Regions from separate parts of the Homo sapiens genome. Here region 2 is linked to region 1. Evidence: promoter capture Hi-C in 16 types of primary human blood cells and fetal thymus (Javierre and others, 2016). All regions are on one chromosome and are shown on one strand. The core of a region is centred on a gene start or on the middle of the fragment in contact, and the rest is flanking DNA. Distances in the headings are between cores, read along the strand shown. Region 1 holds the start of NPAT (nuclear protein, coactivator of histone transcription). Region 2 holds the start of PPP2R1B (protein phosphatase 2 scaffold subunit Abeta).

Region 1 (3,430 bases), core at 931-3,430:
TCTGAACACTAAGGGGAGAAAACTTAACTTCTCTATGTTCAGCAATTGGCACAGTGTTTGGAACATACTAGGCACCCAAAGATTTGCTAGAAAAAAAACATTATGAAGGGACCAATAACAAGAGGAGCTGAAGATGGCGAGGGGGTACTGATAGGAAAAGAATCATGAGTAAATAATAAACCTCATATGAGAAAGATATACACGATATGTATCTATTTAAGATGTAAAATGATAAACGACAAAAGTAAGAGCATTAGGCATGGGGAGGCTTTTTTGTATTGTATACTCCTGCCCATCTGAAATTTTTAGTAAGAATAGAATTATCTCAACTTTCAGACTAAAAGGTATAGTGTGAAAGCTTCAGGGAGATTTGTAACAACAGTAAATAAAATGAATTGCGAGGACAACTGTCTGGGAAGCCATGACAGAAGTCCAAAAGAGAAGTAATGGCAGGCACATTGCGGGATTGGTGGCAGTGAAAATGGAATGTGAATGACAAAGATTTTTAAGATAAGAAAACCATGGCTGGCGTTTTTTGTCCATTAAATGAAAAGCAGGAAGTCAGCAGAGTAGCTGGTTTGTGGAGAAAGAATACTCACACATCGATGTGAATTATTTCAATTAGAAAATGATACTGCTTTCTTAGGGCTTTCTTAACTAGGGGTGATTCTGCCCTCCAGGGGACATACTAGCAATATCTAGAGACATTTTCACTGATCACAACTGGGTAAGGGTAGGGTGGGGAACGGGTGTCCTACTGTAATCTAGTGAATAGAAGCCAGGAATGCTGCTAAACATCCTACAATGTTTGAGCACAGGATAGCTCCCCACAATAAAGAATTATGAGGCCCAAAATGTTAACAGTACTGAGGCTGAGAAACCATGTTTAAGACTATAGTTACCGAAACTCAACTAGATTACCAAACTGCCAAAACTCAGAATTCTTAAGCAAAAGATTAATCAGACATTAACAAAACATTAAACTTGTCATTAAGTTTCTTCAAAAATGGATGGTGGAACCATTTCCGTTTAACGTTTCCTGCAAAATGTGCTTATCAAGAGCCCTGCGCAAATAACATTTTTGTGGACAGCGCTGGGCATTTAAAAGAGGCACAAGACAAATGGGTTTTCCGAACAATAAAATAATAGTAGTAATGGCTGTGAATACTATGGGAGGTTTCATCACAGATGCTTGCCATTTACTTTTAGGGACGTCGCATACGACGTCCGTAAATTACTGGCTCGGGTTTTGAGCTTTACCTGGCTCTCGTCCCCTGTAGTACAATCCTCTTTATTCTTTCAGGGGACAAACAACAACAAAACCCGTCTCTCACACAGACAATACACCCTGACAGACAAGTGACCCACAAACAATCCCTCCTCAAATGAAGGTAAAACTAGGGCTAGAAAACGTTCAACTAATTTAAGGCAATTAACCCTCTGAAATTTTTCGCTGATCAAAGGAACAGGAATTGCTGTTTTAAAATATGCAACTGGCATTTCACACCTCTACACTGGACGACGTATTGCGTGGAGGATGGAGAAGGAAGATCACCCCTACTCCCAAATTCGTAGTTATAAGGGCGGGTTATTAGAAGGGCGCCAGGAAGGTCTCTCTACAAAGATGGGGGGCCGGGGAACTCCCTATTTGCCCTATTTTGGTCCCAACACTGAACCAAGGAAATTGCGCCCAAGGTTGAAGCACACGCAATCCGTCCGTCATGCAGACAAATGCTCTTTCAGGGGTCCTAATTAAGTGTGGAGGCCTGACTTTCCTTCCGAATCCGCCCCAGGTGTTCCACCCCGAGCTTCCCCTCGGGCTTCCCCTCGCCACGCAGCCTCTGAAGAGAGGAGCATCTACATACAAAGAGGCTTAAACTGCCCAGAACCTCCGAATGACGAAGAATCACCGCCAGTCTCAACTCGTAAGCTGGGAGGCAAAACCCCAAAGCTTCCCTACCAAGGGAAAACCTTTGGCCTCAAAGGTCCTTCTGTCCAGCATAGCCGGGTCCAATAACCCTCCATCCCGCGTCCGCGCTTACCCAATACAAGCCGGGCTACGTCCGAGGGTAACAACATGATCAAAACCACAGCAGGAACCACAATAAGGAACAAGACTCAGGTTAAAGCAAACACAGCGACAGCTCCTGCGCCGCATCTCCTGGTTCCAGTGGCGGCACTGAACTCGCGGCAATTTGTCCCGCCTCTTTCGCTTCACGGCAGCCAATCGCTTCCGCCAGAGAAAGAAAGGCGCCGAAATGAAACCCGCCTCCGTTCGCCTTCGGAACTGTCGTCACTTCCGTCCTCAGACTTGGAGGGGCGGGGATGAGGAGGGCGGGGAGGACGACGAGGGCGAAGAGGGTGGGTGAGAGCCCCGGAGCCCGAGCCGAAGGGCGAGCCGCAAACGCTAAGTCGCTGGCCATTGGTGGACATGGCGCAGGCGCGTTTGCTCCGACGGGCCGAATGTTTTGGGGCAGTGTTTTGAGCGCGGAGACCGCGTGATACTGGATGCGCATGGGCATACCGTGCTCTGCGGCTGCTTGGCGTTGCTTCTTCCTCCAGAAGTGGGCGCTGGGCAGTCACGCAGGGTTTGAACCGGAAGCGGGAGTAGGTAGCTGCGTGGCTAACGGAGAAAAGAAGCCGTGGCCGCGGGAGGAGGCGAGAGGAGTCGGGATCTGCGCTGCAGCCACCGCCGCGGTTGATACTACTTTGACCTTCCGAGTGCAGTGGTAGGGGCGCGGAGGCAACGCAGCGGCTTCTGCGCTGGGAAATTCAGTCGTGTGCGACCCAGTCTGTCCTCTCCCCAGACCGCCAATCTCATGCACCCCTCCAGAGTGGCCCTTGACTCCTCCCTCTCCTCACTCCATCTTTCCTGGCCTCTCTCCGGGTGCTTAGCGGACTTGGCCAATAACCTCCTCCTTTTAAACGCCCTGAATTGAACCCTGCCTCCTGCGCATCCTCTTTTTGTGTCACCTTAGGGTTCAGATTTAACTACGCGACTTGACTAGTCATCTTTTGATCTCTCTCTCGTATTTAGTACTTTTAGTCAGCGAGCATTTATTGATATTTCAACTTCAGCCTCGCGGTTAAGAGCTTGGGCTCTGGAATCATACGGCTGGAATTGGAATTCTGTCAGTCGTGTGGCCGCTCTCTACTGTCTTGTGAAGATAAGTGAGATAATCTTGACCTGTGGTGAGCACTCGTGAGCGTTAGCTGCTGTATTTACCAGGTACAGATAAGACAACTACAGTGGATGATAATGTATGTGGTGATAGGGGAGTACTCTGATGGTAGAGGAGTGACTTTGGTTCTCTGCAAACTCAGCCTGAGACTATCAATTCAGTTTGTGGTGAGACCTCGCAGTGTTACCTTGGCAGATGGTAGAAGCCTTCCAGATGGAAGGAAAAATGCGTGTAAAGGCACAAAGTGT
Region 2 (3,404 bases), core at 52-2,551, 3.5 Mb after region 1:
TACTCCCGTATCAATTACTTTCAATAGCTAAATGGTTGATGTTTGAATATATCTAGCCACAACTAACAATATACTCTGTTCTGTTTCTTTTGCACAAAAAACACCTGGCTCATTTTAATGTGGGTAATAAACTCTAAAAAAGTCAGTGTTGAAAGCTACTGGAAAATGGAATGTCCCTACCTTTCTTTAAACAAAGATTCACATACCTGTAAGAAATGGCAACAATTCACTTCGGGTCCTTTCTACTCCAAGTGCTAGGGCAATTGTTGATAACTTCTTAATACTGTTGAGTCGGAGCTTCAGAAAAGAAAGTAGAAAGAAGAACAATGTAAAGAAACGGCTGAATTTAGATCAAAAGACAAAAGGTGCTAACAGGTGAAATTATGACACAGGGGTAAGAATGAAGATAACCTTTCATTTAGATTTTACTGTTAAGGAAGCTCATAAGGACTTCCAAAAAGAAGTGTAACTCGGCCTCACTAGCCGGCGGAGGATTTCCCAGGAGAAACACTCAGAAGGGACCGGAAGAGAAATGAAGGAAAGACAATACAACACCTAGGAAGTAAGATAATTTTAAAAAGAGAGCACTTTGGCAGTGGTGAAGCAGGTGAAACGGTTGAATACAACACCTGTGGTTTCAAAGAAAAGTTCCCACAGAGCGGATACACTACTCGTCCAGATTAATCGGCCATCCCACCCCCGCTTTCTACCCAACAAGCCGAGCCAGTTCCAAGCCGAGATGAAGGGATCCAGGGGCACTTCAAAGGGCTTCTGGGCATCCTGCGCCCCTCAGCCGCTCCAGCCCCGTCTCGGCCTGGCACCGCGCTTCTCCTGCTCCCTCGCCCAAGAGACGCGGCCACCTCACGGCCCGGATGGGGCGCCCAGGCGGGAAGCGGGTTCCCCGACAACCGCCCGGGAAGGGCAAGGCTCCGGGCGGACGCCTCAGGGGGTCCGAAGCAAGGTTACTAGAGAGGTACCCGGGAGGGTCGGGGCGTGTCACCACAGCCCCTCGCGGAGCATTCCCCGCCTCCCCTTCAAGTTTCTGCTACGAGTCCGACTCATTCAGTACCTCGGCCACCCCCACCGCGACGCAGGCCTTCCCCCTTCTCTACCACGCGACCAGCCGGTCTCGCCTCGGGTCCCCGGCCTCAGTCCAGTACCTGCACGTCTTCATTGCGGAGCTCGTCGATTAAAACCGCGATCGGGTATAGCGAATCATCTCCATCTCCACCCGCTGCTCCTGGGCCGGTCCCGAGCTCTGATGCGCCCGCCATGTTCTTTCTCCTCCTGCTGCTGGTCACCGCCTCCCGCCCCGCGCCCAGGCCCCGCCCCGCGCCCAGGCAGTAGGGACGAAGGCCGCCACGCTGGTTTAGCCGAAGTTGGGGAGCCGCGTTTCTGTCCCGATGATTAAGGCTCCCTTCTGACCCCCACTGCAGGAGTTGTAGGTCTGAACTCAAGAAGACGGGTGGGCTAAGAAAGCGAATGGAACCCCTGCGTCCTTTCCCCAGCCGAAAGAAACAGGGACAGGGATTCATCCAGCTCGTTGTAGTCTGAAGGAGCCAGGAACCTACCTGAATGATCTGCGCTGTGCCCTCTTAAGACTCAGGCGGACCAAAGAGAGTGCCCGAGGCCAGGAGGAAAAAGGCTTTAGCACCTCCCCTGACTTCTTCCTGGCCCTGAGCCACTGGATCTCCAGCCCTAATTTCTCCGCTCAGACTCAAACTTCCACAGAACCCCTCCACCTCTTCCCGCGGCTCTTTCTCCAGAATGGTATCTGGCTCCTGCTCCGTAAGACAAATAACGCGGGCGGTGAGAGAAAATGAACAGTGCTGTCCAAACTCCCCAGTCAATATTTTTTCCACGCAAGCTGTTAAAAACATGCTGCTCTCTTGTTTTTGTGTTTCTTTTCAGTTTGGTACTGGAATGGTGCCTTCTGTTGTATTTTCTTCCTCCCATTTTTTAGCTCTTTAGCATGCTAGAAGTACAACAATGAAGCAAAACTAGGACAAGCTTTAATCCTTCCAAATTGGGTGGGGTGGCTACTTTCTTGAGCAAGAAAACCCAAACTGGCCTCCCTAGACCTCCAAGAGTCCTCAGAGGCAGCAAGGGGAAGAGGTGGAGGTCTGGGAGCTCGTTCTTACAAACCTGAATGGAAAGTTTTCACTTACCCCTGTCAGGGTAGCACAGAATAATTAGAATGTTTTGTTTGTTTTAGACTGGAATTTAAGCAGCTTGGAGTGATAACTACATATGGTGATCACAAGCTCCGAAATGGTAATTCTATGTGCCTGATTAATAAAACTATAAATGCAGTGTAGGAGACAAACTTTTTTAAAACATGGGATTCTGAGGCCGAGGCGGGCGGATCACTTGAGGCCAGGAGTTCGAGACCAGCCTGGCCAACTTGGTGAAACCCTGTCTCCACTAAAAAATACAAAAATTAGCTGGGCTGGTGACGGGAGCCTGTAGTCCCAGCTACTCGGGAGGCTGACATGAGAATCGCTTGAGCCCGGGAGGCAGAGGTTGCAGTGAGCCAGGATCGCACCACTGTACTCCAATCTGGGCGGCAGAGTGAGACCCCGTCTCTAAAATAAATAAATAAATAAATAGCGTTCTTGGAAGTAAGCACAATAGAGCCTTTGAATGAATGAATGAAATAATGAATAAATAAATAAATAAATAAATAAATAAATAAATAAATAAATGGGGTTCTTGGAAGTAAGCACAATAGCTAGAGCCTTTGATAGTAATGAAAGTTTGGGAACCAGCAGACCTGAACAGTTTTTCTCAAATTATGTCTGCGAATGTATTCTCTAGGGTTTTAATTTTATTTTCATTTTCATATTTTTTAGATTTGTATAAGCATATTCTGAATTATTTGGGTGACCACCTTACAACCAAGTATTGCCACACAATTTCAGCACCCACATTTACATGTGTGTTTTAGTGCTGCTTTTATTGTTCTGGGATAATGAGAAAAGAACAGAGGTGGTTTTAAAATGACAATGATACTTTCATGCACAAAATGAAAGCCAAATGCATCATGAGATTGCACTATTTGGTAGTTGTAACAGAAAAATGGTGAGAAAATTAAGATATCAGGAGTCACTTGGTGGCATAGGCATGTTGAACACAAAAGAAGCTGAGCTATAGCAGGCAACACCATAGTAACAATACGACGGATGACAGTTTTAGCAAAATACATCATTTGTCACGTTAAATTACTATAATATTTTTAATTGAATAGTATTCATTTTGTGGTTTCATTTGTATTTAATTTGTAAATTTGTTGTGGTTTTTTTTTAGCTGTGTAAGAACTAGAAATAAAAGCACATTTTTCCTACTTTATATTCGTAAATTTAAATAACCACAGCATAATAAAAACAATTTAGCTAAACATGGTA

The links. The method cuts DNA at HindIII sites, captures the fragments that hold promoters and counts their contacts. A CHiCAGO score of 5 or more calls a contact.
Region 2: the fragment with the promoter of PPP2R1B here is called in contact with the fragment with the promoter of NPAT in region 1 in 2 of 17 cell types (monocytes and total B cells); the score reaches 9.1 in monocytes.

What each region holds. Positions count from the first base shown.
Region 1 is chr11:108,220,458-108,223,887 of GRCh38, forward strand. NPAT (nuclear protein, coactivator of histone transcription) reads right to left here and starts at 2,181. Exons shown (of 18, transcript NM_002519.3): 1 at 2,043-2,181. The coding sequence starts at 2,079. It overlaps ATM (ATM serine/threonine kinase), which reads left to right and starts at 2,610. Exons shown (of 63, transcript NM_000051.4): 1 at 2,610-2,729. RefSeq lists enhancers at 2,077-2,136, 2,547-2,706, 3,017-3,096. The HindIII fragment of the contact is 4,203 bases long and covers 1,950-3,430 here.
Region 2 is chr11:111,765,088-111,768,491 of GRCh38, forward strand. PPP2R1B (protein phosphatase 2 scaffold subunit Abeta) reads right to left here and starts at 1,302. Exons shown (of 15, transcript NM_002716.5): 1 at 1,161-1,302; 2 at 207-297. The coding sequence starts at 1,274. It also overlaps a transcript of ALG9 not described here. RefSeq lists enhancers at 328-1,231, 1,118-1,297, 1,318-1,367. The HindIII fragment of the contact is 3,920 bases long and covers 1-2,008 here.